Linked DNA regions of Homo sapiens: region 1 is linked to region 2. The links are contacts of gene promoters, found by promoter capture Hi-C in blood cells and fetal thymus (Javierre and others, 2016). All regions are on one chromosome and are shown on one strand. The core of a region is centred on a gene start or on the middle of the fragment in contact, and the rest is flanking DNA. Distances in the headings are between cores, read along the strand shown.

Evidence for each region. The method cuts DNA at HindIII sites, captures the fragments that hold promoters and counts their contacts. A CHiCAGO score of 5 or more calls a contact.
Region 1: a contact is called between the fragment with the promoter of YTHDC1 here and the fragment with the promoter of UTP3 in region 2, in 3 of 17 cell types (naive CD8 T cells, total B cells and total CD8 T cells). The highest score is 10.1, in naive CD8 T cells.

Annotation. Positions count from the first base shown.
Region 1 is chr4:68,346,828-68,354,241 of GRCh38, reverse strand. YTHDC1 (YTH N6-methyladenosine RNA binding protein C1) reads left to right here and starts at 4,152. Exons shown (of 17, transcript NM_001031732.4): 1 at 4,152-4,516. The coding sequence starts at 4,489. RefSeq lists an enhancer at 4,204-4,783. The HindIII fragment of the contact is 7,711 bases long and covers 1,261-7,414 here.
Region 2 is chr4:70,686,685-70,693,774 of GRCh38, reverse strand. It overlaps UTP3 (UTP3 small subunit processome component), which reads right to left and starts at 5,243. Exons shown (of 1, transcript NM_020368.3): 1 at 3,224-5,243. The coding sequence starts at 5,097. The coding sequence ends at 3,658. LOC101927297 (a long non-coding RNA gene) reads right to left here. Exons shown (of 4, transcript XR_938860.3): 4 at 6,959-7,090. RefSeq lists enhancers at 5,118-5,177, 4,379-5,347, 5,878-5,967, 5,348-6,318. The HindIII fragment of the contact is 6,672 bases long and covers 3,669-7,090 here.

The DNA.
Region 1 (7,414 bases), core at 2,903-5,402, 2.3 Mb after region 2:
TGCAGAAATAAAACTTTATACCTGTTGAACAGCAACTCCCCATTTCCCTTTCCCCCTAGTCCCTGGCAACAACCATCTTACTGTTTCCGTGAATGTGAATATTTTAGATACTTCATAGAAGTGGAATCATGCAGTACAGTATTTGTCCTTCTCCGACTGATTTATTTCACTTAGCAGAACATCCTCCAGGGTCATTCATGTTGTTACATACAGCAAGATTTCCTTTTTTTATTTTTATTTTTATTTTTATTTGAGACACAGTCTCTCCTCTGCGGCCTAGGCTGGAGTGCAGTGGTGCGATCTCGGGTCACTACAACCTCTGCCTCCCAGGCTCAACCGATTGTCCTGTCAGCCTCCTGAGTAGCTGGGATTACAGGTGCGAGCTACCATGCCAGGCTAACTTTTGTATTTTTAGTAGTGATGGGGTTTCGCCATGTATGCCAAGCTGATCTCCAACTCCTGGCGTCTAGTGATCGGCTTGCCTTGGCCTCCCAAAGTGCCGAGATTACAGGCATAAGCCACTGTGACTGGCCGATTTTCTTCTTTTTTAAGACTGAATAGTATTCAATTGAATGTATAAACCATATGTTTTTTAACCCATTCATCTTTCAACAGACGTATAAGTTGTTTCAAAAGATACCAGGTTTTGGCAAGGATACGGAGAAATTGGAATACTTATACACCATAGCAGGAATGTAAAACGGTGCAGCGACTATATAAAAAAAAAAAAGAGTATGGAAGTTCCTCAAATATAGAACTACCATATGATCCAGCAATTCTATTTCTGTGTATATATCCAAAACAATTGAAATCAGGCTCTCAAAAGAGATATCTGTACTTCCATGTTCATTGTTATATTTTTACAATTATATTGTGATGATCCCTGAGGTCTGAAGAGGATTTTTGGCTGCAAGTTTTTAGTTCAGCATCTTTACCCAGAAAGTTATTTCCACCCATAGCTAGGCCAAAAATCTGAGTCACTCAATACTACATTTTCTGGTTAAGTTCACCAACAATAATTGTTAGAACAATCCATCTTTCCTGAACTACAGAAACAATAAAAATAACAATAGCTCCAGCTTATTGATCACTTAACTGCCTTTAAAAAAATCATTTGAAACATTATAGCAATCCTTTGGAAATTATTTCTAAATTCCCATTTATTAAGATACTAAAGATTAGAAGTTAATTTCTCTAAGGTCTCATGCTATTGAGAGACAGAGCTGGAATTTGTACCCACGTCATTATGACTGCAAAGCTTACTCTCTTAATCACTACACAATAGCTTCAGACCAATGTTCAACATACCTAGAGTTCATCCTTTATAACCTCAACAACTTTTCCTATTTACTAACATGACTGAATTAAAAACCGCATTTTTTTACAGCTGTGCTCTTAGTTTAACATAAACTTACTTCATTTTATTTTTTGAGACAGGGTCCAGCTCTGTTGCCCAGGCTGGAGTGCAGAGGCGTAATCATGTCTCACTGCAGCCTTGACCTCGCCGGCTCAAGCAATCCTCCCACTTTGGCCCCCAGAGAAGTTGGGACTACAGGTGTGCACCACCATGACCAGCTATTTTTTATTTTATTTTCTGCAGAGATGTGGTTTCGCCAGGTTGCCCAAGCTGGTCTTAAAACTCCTGAGCCCAAGTGATCCACCTGCCTTGGCCTCCCAAAGGGCTGGAATTACAGGCATGTGCCACTGCAGCTGGCCCCATAAACTTATTTTAATAACAAAGATGCAAATATGGAATTCTATTTACATTAAAAATTACTCCTTAGTTCTAATAGGACAAATGTAGAATCAGGGAAAATGGCATTTTGATATCTTCTAAATTACTTGGCTGTTTTCTTATGCTCTTCTTTACAAAAAATTATTAAAGGAAACTCAAATATGCAAAAAAGTAGAGAAGAGAGTATAATATTAACTAATGTATGTGGAAATCAAAAGGTATCTGAGGCAGGTCTCAATCAATTTAGAAAGTTTATTTTGCCAAGGTTAAGAAAGAGCCCATGACAGCCTCAAGCTGTCCTGATGACATGTGCCCAAGGTGGTCGTGCACAGCTTCATTTTATACATTTTAGGGATACATGAGACATCAATCACCAGCTTGACTTCTTCCTTTGGCTTAGTGATGTTGGGGAGATTTTCCTTTCACATATGTATCGCCCAGCTTCAACAATTGTTAACTCATGGGTAGACTTGTTTAATCTATTCTCCTACCCATTTCGCTACACCTGCCACCAGTTTGATAAATCCCAGATACCATATAATTTCATTTGCAAATATTTATTACTATTCTTATTATTATTTTGAGACAGAGTCTAGCTCTGTTGTCCTGGTTGGGGTGAAAGTGGCACAATCTCAGCTCACTGCAACCTCCGCCTCCCGGGTTCAAGCAATTCTGCCTTAGCCTCCCGAGTAGCTGGGACTACAGGCGCATGCCATCATGCCTGGCTAATTTTTGTATTTTTAGCAGAGACGGGGTTTCACCATATTGGTCAGGCTGGTCTCAAACTCCTGACCACAGGTGATCCGCCCGCCTGGGCCTCCCGAAGTGCTGGGATTACAGGTATGAGCCACTGCATCTGGCCTGCAAATATTTTCATATGAATCATGAAATTATAAGAAATTCTTTAAAAAGCAAAACTTATTAAAACTAAAAATACAAATAGCAATTCCTCAGGATCATCAGATATTATTTAATGTGTGTGTGTGTGTGTGTTTGTGGCGTGTGCGTGTTCGTATATTCAAATTAGTGTTCAATTAAGGTCCTAGAAATGGGGCCACTCCTGGTGGCTTCACACCTGTAATCCCGCACTTTGGGAGGCCGAGGTGGGAGGATTGCTGGAGCCCAGGATTTAGACACTAGCCTGGGCAAGATGGCTAGGTGTTAGCCATCTTGCGGAGATGGTATATCTCCACAAAAAATGCAAAAAATGTGTCGGATGTGGTGGAGCATGCCTGTAGTTCCAGCTACCTGGGAGGTTAAGGTGGGAGGATCACTTGAGCCCAAGGTTGCAGTGAGCCATGATCACACCACTGCACTCCAGCCTGTGTCACAGTGAGACCACGTCTCAAAAAAAAAGAGGTACCACATTCTAGACTTCTAGACTACTTGTCTTTCCCTGAATATGCAGTTAGTTTGCCAGTTTGTCTTCATATCACGAAGTTACTTAGTTACCTTTTTCAGATTTTTCTTTCCCTTATAACTCAGTTATAGTTCAAGGAAGCAAAATTAGATTGTTTCCGTTGGACAATGAATCTTAAGCAAGTTTCTCTTGCAGATTTTACCACACTATGTAGTTATGTATCTACTGGTCATTTATTCTGTAGTTTCGATTCCTCGATGGTCTGCTTAAATCAATTTTGTGCCCCAGGGCCTTGATAACATGTTTAAATTAGTTATTAATTACAAAGACCTATTATGATACAATTCTTTCCCCAATTAAAAACAAAACTAGGCCGGGCGTGGTAGCTCACGCCTGTAATCCCAGCACTTCATCCTGGCCAACATGGTGAAATCCCGTCTCTACTAAAAATAAAAAAATTAACTGGGCGTGGTGGCGGGCGCCTGTAGTCCCAGCTACTCAGGAGGCAGAGCCAGGAGAATCGCTTGAACCTGGGAGGCGGAGGTTGCGGTGAGCCGAGATCGCGCTGCTGCACTCCAACCTAGCGACAGAGCGAGACTCCGTCTCAAAACAAACAAAAACTAGCAGGCTTTTGTGACTACAAACAAGCTGGTTGCATGCTGCACTGCCTTTGGGTAAGAGTGGAACTCCAACTAAGAAAGTACATCTGGTAAACATAAGGGATTCACCCAGACTTGTCCTAAATAAGACTCCGATTACCCGAACTGAATCAGGAGTCCTTTAGAGCGACTCTAGCTAAGAAGGCCTGTTAGGCCCTGCACTAAGAGTTTCAGGTGGGAAAATTGCGCCATCCAGTTATAGGCCGTACAGCGGGAACTCCATGAACAACCTGGGTAACCTAATCCCTGAATAAGACTCCTTCCAGGTACCAGTGGGCTGAGGGCGGCAGGGCGACGCGCTGACGTCACGTCACGTTCCTTTGCACGTCCCCGCCTCCCCGCCCCTCTCCGCACTGTGACGTTCCCAGAGAGGAACGAAGCGTAAACAGCGCAGGGCATTTCGGGAGCGGGATTGTTTCGCGCAGGAAGCAGGCTCCATTTTAGCGCCGCCCGCCGTCGCCATCTGTTTCCCTTCCCTCCCCCATACCTAGCCCGAGTCTGAGCCCTAACGAGAAGGCTGGGCCTAGGCCGCTGGATGCTGGAGTGAAAGGAAGGGAGAAAGGGAAAAAGCGGGAAGAGTCGAGAAGGCTGAGTGTTAAGAGGCCAAGTGCGACGCGCGTATCCGGGCAGACGGACTGACGGACGGGCCCGTGCTTCTGCCGCGGCTGCGGCGCCCGCGCGAGTCGCGTCTAAGCGGCGGCGGCGGTGGCAGCGGCGGAAACCGAAGGGGAGCCATGGCGGCTGACAGTCGGGAGGAGAAAGGTTAGTGCGGAGAAAGATGACGGGCCGAGGCGAGGCTGGGGCCCGGGAGTGGGGTGATGGAGCAGTGGTCGTCGTTGGGGGTGGGGGGTGGGGGTTGGGGAGGTTAGCTGGCCTCGCGAGGAGCCGGTGGCCCCCACCGAGACACTTAGACTCTGGCGGAGACCAGGCCTGCCCTTTCGTCCTCAGTCTCCATATGGCCTAGCACTTCATCTCAGTAGGGTTTTTCTTTGATGCGGATTTCACGCTTGACTTTCCGTTTAGCTGTCTTGGGCTGAGAGGGGCCCTTTCTGAGTTGCAAGCTCCTAGGTTTATTTCCTGGTAGGATCATGCGGATGTAACGCGTATTTTCAGGACAACCATTTCTGTTAGGCTAAAATTTGAAAACCCCTAATGCCGCGATCAACACTGGTGGTGTGGTAAGTGAGCAAGTTTAGGAAGTGGCACTGGCAGGTTATTAATCTTGAGAAATATCTGCAAATAACTTCTGGCTGTTCCTGTTAAATAGGCAAAGTGAATTACCCGTTTTGTTCCTCGAATACTTATTTTGGAAAAACATAGTACTTGGAAAAAGGAATACTTAGTTTGGAAAGATGACTGTGTGACTTAGGCTGGCAAAGAAATCCTGGGTGCTATTATGTTAGAAAAACCGTGTGTAGCTCCCAGAGGGTACAGTCAGAAACAAATGAATGCAAGTTACAGAGAGTTGGAGGGATAAATTTCAGTGAAATGTAGAGAGAACTGACGTTGCTGTAATGGAAAGATAGTAATACTAAGTTCCCAAGCCCTAGAGATATTAATGTAGGTCCTAGATCAGTGTCTCTCTGGAGAGTGGTCTAGATTAAATGCTGCTTTAAGATCTTTTTCAACCCTAAGATTAACATAATAGTCTTGGAAAGATTATAGTTAAAAATATGACACGGTCGCTGCTCTGTGTCTCACACATCTCTTCTGTGTGCCTAATTGATTTGGGGTTTTTTTGTCGGGGGTTGTTAAGTGGGCTCTAGAGTCAAGTTACATTAGGCGTGTAATCCTTTTTTCTTAATTTTTCTGGTTTCTGCATCAGGAGAGTCTTCATGCTTCAATGAACTGCCCTAGGTTAGGGACAAGCTGGGAAAGTGGAATGGGTGGGAATACTTTTAAGATACTGCCCTTATCCTAAAGTAGTTCTTTGATTAGGTTATAGCAGTTTAATGTTCCATCCTTAAACTAAATGCTAAAAAATCTCCCTGGGCCTTTTTTTTTTTTTTTTTTGAGAAATCCAGAAGTAATGGGAACATAGGATTGTATGGTGTTAGTGAGTAAAGGAAAATGCTTTTAATTAGTTAACTCAGTTATTAAAATACATGATCTTAATTAGTAAGTATTCAGCAAACATCTGATTGTCTTTCTAATTTATGAACTGTGGATATGGGAGTCTGTAGTGGTTGTGGTGGGCGAAATGAACCAAACACAAAAATGAGTAAAATTCAGTACTTCTCAAGAATTCGTTGTCTAAGATGAAAATATTTACAAGTCGTTAATAGAGTAGACGCAGTAATGCACATTGAAGAAGAAAAGTAGATGATTTTAAAAGTTTTGCTTTAGAAATGATTTAGTGATGATAATGCAGTCCAAATACATAAACTGTGTAGCTATTACTGGGAAGTAGTGATATCACCTGTTGTCTATACATAGGATACATTTCCCCACTTTTGAAAAGGTTCTTTGCCTCACATTTGCTTAGTTTTTTTTATTTAATTTTCATAACTTTATTTAAAAACTTGATGTAAGTGCTTTATCTTTATAGTTTAGAACAAAGATTGTTTCTGGACTACACGGAGAACTAGCACTTACCTACTGGAATTGTTTATTTCGTTTTGGGAGAGTTCTAGGTAACCTACAGGTTGTATCATTTACTTGATGATCATCATCACACACTTAGCTTTATAGTTAGAATCAATACTTAGGTCTTCCTCTCTTAAGGAAAAGTGGGACTCTTAAGCGCTTTATTGTCTTACATGAAACAGGAAATTATAAGGATAAACCCTCTAAAAATCTCAGTCATGTCACAAACGTTAAGTTCTTTCTCAAATGATTCCATAAATGGTTTAAGATCTTGATAGCAAATGAGTCTATAAGTTGCAGAAATTGGCAATTATATTAATCACAGAACAGTAAAGACCCTTGTTCATAGAGTTCTTGATGGGGTTTTGCACTTATCTGGGTAATAAAGACATGAATTTCTATAATCTATAACAATGCTTCAATAATACTCATACCTAGAAGCTGCAGCCCATATAAGTGGACAGATTGCTAGCTCCCTGTGATTCCTGTGGTGATAATTTGCCCAAGAAACTGGATTTGAAAGGTGTTGCAATGTTGGTGTTAACTAATATTAAATGCCATTTTTCTATATAAGGAGGAAATATGCATCTTTTCTATTATTGCAAACACCTTGTATAAATTGTATTAATCTTTTACAAAGTTCTCTACAAAGAACAGTTACAAAAGTTTAATCTATCCAAAATGTGTATGAGTAATGTGTAATGAGTTACTGTGTTAAAAATAACGTGTTTTCTAGATTACCAGACTAGAAGCTCCCTGAGTGCCCGGAGTACATCTGTCTTGTTCACTGGGTTCTTTGTATACAGTAATTGTGTTTCAGTACCTTGAGTATTTACCAGGTTGGACTTCATTGACTGACTGGTTAAATGACATGTGCAGTATGATAACGAAAGCTAAGAGTTTCTCAGTTTAAGTTATACAACAGTTCTCCCCTGACCCCCAACCTCTACCAGCCTTATTTTCCTGGTAAATACGTTCTAAGATCCACAGTGGATACCTGAAACAATGGATATTACTATATCCTATCTATACTATGTTTTTTTCTATATGTATATACCTATGATGAAGTTTAAT
Region 2 (7,090 bases), core at 3,994-6,493:
GTTGTTTGAGACAGTCTTGCTCTGTTGCCCAGGCTGGAGTGCAGTGGTACGATCTCAGCTCACCACAACCTCTGCCGCCCGGGTTCAAGCGATTCTCCTGCCTTGGTCTCCTGAGTAGCTGGGACTACAGGCGTGGGCCATCACGCCTGGCTAATTTTTGTATTTTTAGTAGAGATGGGGTTTCACCATGTTGGCCACGTTGGTCTTGAACTCCTGACCTTGTGATCTGCCTGCCTCAGCCTCCCAAAGTGCTGGGATTACAGGCATCAGCCACCGCGCCCGGCCCAGTGTGATTTTAAATTCTAGTTAGAAACATGATTTTTTTTGGTAACATCTATAATTCAGTGTTCCTGTTCAGTACCTGTTCATCATTGTGATCTCCAAGATGTAAAGCATACTAAGTTCCACTTTTCTTGAATTATTCTGGTAATGTTAACTTGTATAATTTAACACGTTAACTTAAAATTATTTTATTTCATAGCAACTCCAGCCATTCCTCAGATATATCAAATATTTTGTGTAAGATACGTGAATCAAATTAATTATTCAAGTTATCTAAGCTAGATTTTATCTTTTAGATCACAAAAAGTAATTTTCCAGTTTGCCAAAAACTTTGACCATTAGGTAGTTCTTAGAGGTCTGAGAAGCGAATAAAATTTACTTCTACACAAAAATTAAAGTGGCATGTTGATCTTATTTAACTTCTTCATAGGTAAGAATATAGGTAAGAAACTGGCTTAGAGAAATTGGCCCAAAGCCAGTCAGCTGATTAGTGGCAGAGTAAATGCATCACTAGCTATTTAGTGGATCACTAATTTGATGTTTTCTTCTACTTTAATTTTTAATATTTTGTATTTTTCATAGCTGTCTATAGTTTAATATACTGCCATAAAACTAACAGGTTGTTGATGCTTTGTACTGATGCCTGCTACCAGTAATGTACTTTATTGGAACTCTTACCCATGAAGCTCTCCAGTCTTCACAAAGTGAGTTTTTACAAAAAAAGATTATCACATTGGTTAACAACTTATTCATGTACAAATGACAGTACCCAGCACATCTCAGTGCTCTTTAAATGTTTGTTAAATATACATAACAAATTTTGAAAGATGCGGCTGGGGGTGGTGGCTCTCGCCTGTAATCCCAGCACTTTGGGAGGCTGAGGTGGGTGGATTACCTGAGGTCAGGAGTTCAAGACCAGTCTGGCCAACACAGTGAAACCCCATCTCTACTAAAAATACAAAAATTACCTGGGTGTGGTGGTATACACCTGTAATCCCAGCTACTCGGGAGGCTGAGGTAGGAGAATCACTTGAACCTGGGAGGCAGAGGTTGCAGTGAGCCTAGATTGTGCCACTGCACTCTAGCCTGGGTGACAGAGAAAGGCTCCATCTCAAAAACAAACAAACAAACAAACAAAAAAAACACCAAAAAATGGCCAGGAGCGGGTGGATCGCTTGAGGCCAGGAGTTCGACTGGGACTGTAGTCTCAGCTACTCCGCAGGCTGAGAGGCAGAATTGCTTGAACCTAGGAGGTTGAGGTTGCAGTGAGCTGAGATCACACCACTGCACTCAAGCCTGGGCGACAGACTGAGACTCTGTCTCAAAAAAAAAAACAAAAAACAAAAAACAAACAAACCCCCTGCAAAAGATCCAACCCGGCAGTCTAACTACAGTCTGTTCTTAACCACTGACTTATGGCTTCTCTGAGGTAGGTATAATAACAGAGACTCATACAGATGAAGAAAATGAAACTCAGAGATTAACTGAAAATCATCCTGTTAACTCCAAAACCTGTATTTTTTCTATTATATCAAAAAAAAAAAAAAAAAGGAAGTATAGAATTGGGTTCTGAAGCCATAAAGGCTGGGTTGAAATCCTGGCTCTGCCACTTAATAGCTGTGTGACCCTGAGAAAGTTACTTCTCTTTGCCAGTTTCCTTATTTTCAAAATATGGATAACAGAATTTACCACATAAGGTTATGAGAAATAAGGAAATAAGCACAAAGTGCTCGGAAAGTTACCTTAGTAAGCACTGTTATTTCTATTTCCAACCTACCTCTTTTATTTATAAGGAAACAAAATAATTTGTCCTGTGTGCTACTCTGAGGAAGCAGCTGTAAGCCAGAGGTTAAGAGAATGAATGCTCAAGTTGGTTTGGGTTCAGATTTCAAGCAGATGTCCTTTAGAAAGTCAACCTTCCAAAATTTCAGCATCCTCATCTGTGGAGCACAGTATCACCTTGCAAAGTTATTGTAAAGATTAAATGAGGTGATGTACAACTAGCACATGGCAAGTGTTCCATAAATATTAACCAAGCGTCATCTCTGCATCTCTAGCAGCTAGCACAGTGTTTACTGAATAAACAGTGACACAATTAGGAAATTAGGACTTTTTTTTGTGGTTTCCTTCACTAGTCCTCTCATTTTCTTCCCTGGCAACATCCTATTTTTACATTTACCACCTCAACATCTTCCCCCTATTTAAAGACCAGTGTAGCAGCAAAGAAAAATGGCTAATGTTAAATGACGAGTTACGGGGTGCAGCACACCAACATGGCACATGTATATATATGTAGCTAACCTGCACGTTGGGCACATGTACCCTAAAACTTAAAGTATAATTAAAAAAAAAAAAGAAAAGAAAAATGGAACATTGAGCTGGGCGTGGTGGCTCACACTTGTAATCCCAGCACTTTGGGAGGCCGAGGCGGGCAGATCACTTGAGGTCAGGAGGTCGAGACCAGCCTGGCCAAAATGGTGAAACCCTGTCTCAACTAGCAATACAAAAATTAGCTGGGCGTGGTGGCAAGCACCTGTAATCCCAGCTACTCAGGAGGCTGAGGCAGGAGAATCGCTTGAACCCGGGAGGTGGAGGTTGCAGTGAGCTGAGAGATCCTGCCACTGCACTCCAGCCTGGGCTACAGAGTGAGACTTCAATCTCGAAAAAAAAAAAAAAGAAAAATGGAACTTTGTTGCCACTTAAAGTTACCACTTACCTGGTAGTAATCATATCAAAGTTTTAGCAAATGGAGTGCAAGTACAAGCAGCAACCACTGCAAATCACCAGTAAAGAAGGGGAAATGGGATTTTTACCTTATTTGCCACATGAAGAACTATGAGAAAATATTGACAATTGATGTAATTAAGGCATATCTTTTCCTTTTTCTGCTTTTAACCAAAGTTTCATTCCTATGCTTTTAAACCACACAGAACATATGAAATCCATGTTAACATTAAGCCCATTTATTAACAAGTATCTGGCCCAATAATTATAGTTAGGTAAATAAAATACTTCAGAACTATTTTATAGGCTGCCTTACAAATAAGATAACTGTCAAAGATGCATTCTCTTTATGTGAAAAGTTACACATGTTCTAAGTTTAACACTCCACAATGAACTGTGAAATTTCCCTAAGCTAATACTTAATATTGGAAAACTTCAACAGAATATTGGAAAACTTCAACATCATCTCTTTTCTCAAGCACCTTCATATTGCTCCCATAGTTCTTATAAATTGTCCAATAACCCAGACAAATTTCCTTGTGGACAAGAATTTTTAAAATTTAAAGTATTATATATTAATACAATGACTTTAGTTAAAAGTAAAAATTTATTGATCCAAAACTGCCAAAAACCTTATGCTAAGCAAAAACTTCATTTAAGCTTAATGCTCTTTTTAACTCCTGCACGAATGCCAGATAATTCACCACTATAACGTTGCTCTTCTTTACGAACTTCACGAACCTGGCCTCTTCTTCTAATTTTGGCTCTTCTGAACTTCTCTCTGTGTTTCACTCTGGGATTGCGATCAATCTTCTTTCTCCTAGGAGTAAGTCCCCTATTTTTAGCAATTTGATAGGTAATAGCTCTCTTTGCATTTTGATCTTCAAGAGCCTGTTCTTCAGTGCTATTTTCTTCTTTCTTTCTCTTTAGCTTTTGCCTGTCTTCTATTTCTTTATAGTACTTCAGTTTTGCTTTTTCATCAAAATCAGAATCATCAGAAAGATCTGTAACAGCACAGGCAGCAGCAGAAGTCTTTGAAACAGACTTTGGTTTGGGCTTGGTGGATTTTGCTTTTGGAATCAGTTCTTTCTTTACAGCATCATCCTTAAGTGTCAACAGATGACGAATTTCTGAGGACAGCTTCTGATCCACAACGGACAGCTTGTTGATCAAATTTCGGTAGGTAACAAGCCTTTCTATGACAGGATGTCCATGTGCTGGGACTCTCCTAGCTTTCAGGATCAAATAAAAACTGATGTTCGAGCAATAATTCAAGTAGAGGTTGTACTTGGTCCTCAAGTATTGGCTTCCTTTTCCGGGTGGAATGATCCCTTGTTCCACCAACTCTAACAATGGCTCCAGCTCATCCTTAACCTCTGTCAACTTGACTTTCAGGTCTTCTATCAGCTCCAAGAGTTCTGGTGATTCCTTTCGCAACATTTTCAGCTTCTCTTTCACTGAAACTTTAGCCAAATCCTTCACGACCCGTGTCTCAGCCTCATCTACCTGAGGCACTGGTTTTGCAAAGGCCTCAACCCAGGCGACACCAAAATCATCCTCTTGCAGCGCTTGGGCTAGGCGCCGCTGAATGATCTGTGCCTCCTCCTCCTCCTCTCTTTCCTCCTCCTCTGCCTCCTGTTGACTCTGCCGGCCTCGGGACTTGGAACCATAGTCCGTGTCATAGTAAAGTTTTTTCCTCTGACCCCACGACAAACTGGGATCCACAGAGGCCTCAGCTTCACTTTGCACGGAGCTCCCACCATCATCATCGGCATTCTCCTCCTCCTCCTCCTCCCCCGCATTCCCTCCATCTTCGTCGTCCTCATCGTCCATATCTAGGGCTAGCACCTCCTCCTCCTCCTCCTCGCCATCCTCCTCGTCTCCACTCTGTACTTCATTCCAGCCCTTAGCTAAGGCGGCCCGGGATCGTGCCTCATGAAAGTCATCTACCTGATCTTGGTAGTAGCTGGTGTCCCCTGGTGAGGGTGGCAATCCTAAATCATCTCCATTTTCGTCGGTGAGCGTGGGACCTGCCTTGGCTCGCACAGCTGCCCACTTAGCTGCTCCGCGCCGCCGGGATCTCCCCACCATGGCTCACAATCTCAGGTTTTACAGCGACTCCGGACTTTCGGCCACCACTGACTTCGGCGCAGGAATCAGGCGCTCCGGTAACTCGTGGCTCTAAACAGCAGCGCGCTCCCCTACCACCGGAGTTTGCAGACTCCTGATCGGCTACTGGAATTTCCTCTTCCTTCCGGCCCCCAGCATGCTCTCCGCGTGGCGTACGATTGAGGACTTCCGCTCGGTCCCTTAGTCGAGATCACGTTGATACCAACTTCCTTTTCACTGTGCCCTTTAACGCCAGTCGATTCCGGTGAATTAAAATCTTTCCGTGTGGAAACGATAGGATAAGGAAGTTCCGTTCCACAGAACGCTTTCTCGGGCTAATGCGCTTACTCTCGAGTGCCTGGGAGTGGCTGGGGGACGGAATCCTGACGGCACCTCCAGGCGAGGTCCCGATGGCCAATAGAGGGCGCTGCGCTTTACGCCCCGGAGAAGTCCCGGGGGCGTTCCATTGAGGTTTAACTGCGTGTGTACCCGGCGCTTGCGACCGGCAGTCTAGTGCTAGCGTAGTTTTCCTGCTCCCTTGTTTTCTCTTTTCTGCTTATCAGGCTGGAAGTTAATCAGATTGCTTTCCTCTCATTTCACCCCCACCCCCAATACCATATTTCTGGGTACCACAGCCTCAGGCAGCGCCGCTGGACTCCAGAATCCCACGGGAGGTTTCCGGGCGAGAGCGCAGGCCGGGCCTCCGGCTCGGGTTTACTCATCCCCATCGCCCTCTCCCTGCTCACAGGGCTCGGTGACCCGCTCCATGGGGATCGATAAAGCTAGATGACCCCGAGGCTGACAGTGGGAAGGCAGAGCCCCGCTGCAGGGTCTGACTCTTCTCAAGGAAGTCTGCCCTGTAATGTTAGAGTAATTCAGGGTGTAAGTTTTTAGGCATTACATATGTAAGGTTCAGGGTTAGTATTATTATACCTTTTAATGTAGGTAGTTGGAAGCTGAACTTTTGATACGTTGCTAAAATTAATGGTGACATGGCTGGGCGCGGTGGCTCATGCCCATAATCCTAAGCACTTTGGGAGGCCGAAGTGGGTGGATCACTTGAGGTCAGGAGTGCAAAACCAGCCTGGCCAACATGGGGAAACCCAGTCTCTACTACAAATACAAAAAATTAGCGGGGCGTGGTGGCGGGTACCTGTAATCCCAGCTACTCGGGAGGTTGAGGCAGGAGAATCACTTGAACCCGGGAGGCGGAGGTGGCAGTAAGCCGATATCGCACCACTGCACTCTAGCCTGGGCGACAGACAGAGACTCTGTCTCAAAATAAATAAATAAATAAATAAAATAAAATTAATGGTGACAATTTCTTTTTCTTTTGTTTTTTGTTTCTTTTTTCTTTTTCTTTTTTTCTTTTTTTTTTTTTGAGACGGAGGCTCGCTCTGTTGCCAGGCTGGAGTGCAGTGGCAATCTCGGCCCACTGCAACCTCCGACCCCCTGGTTCAAGTGATTCTCCTCCCTCAGCCTCCCGAGTAGCTGGCATTACAGGCACGCGCCACCACTCCCAGCTAATTTTTGTATTTTTAGTAGAGACGGGGTTTCATCATGTTGGCCAGGATGGTCTCCATCTCCTGACCTCGTGATACGCCCGCCTCGGCCTCCCAAAGTGCTGGGATTGATTACAGGCGTGAGTCACCGCGCCCAGCCAATGGTGACAATTTCTTTTCAGAAAGTATAGTGTCATTAGGTTAATAAAAATAATGCAAAATGTTAGAAAAGTGATACTTTGAAATAAACATTTTCCAAGTGCCTAAAGGTGTCCGAAACATTTTGAAATTTTTACAAGATTTTAGAAAATAAAATTAAATTAGAAAGTTGTGGGCAAAAGTTATGTTCTGATGGTAAGCATGAATTTATTTTTTAATGTAAATTTTAGTACATTTTGTCATTTAGCAGATATTAACTGCTTACTGTTTGTTGTAGAATGCTACAGACAATAGTGATGAATCAGCCAGTTAAG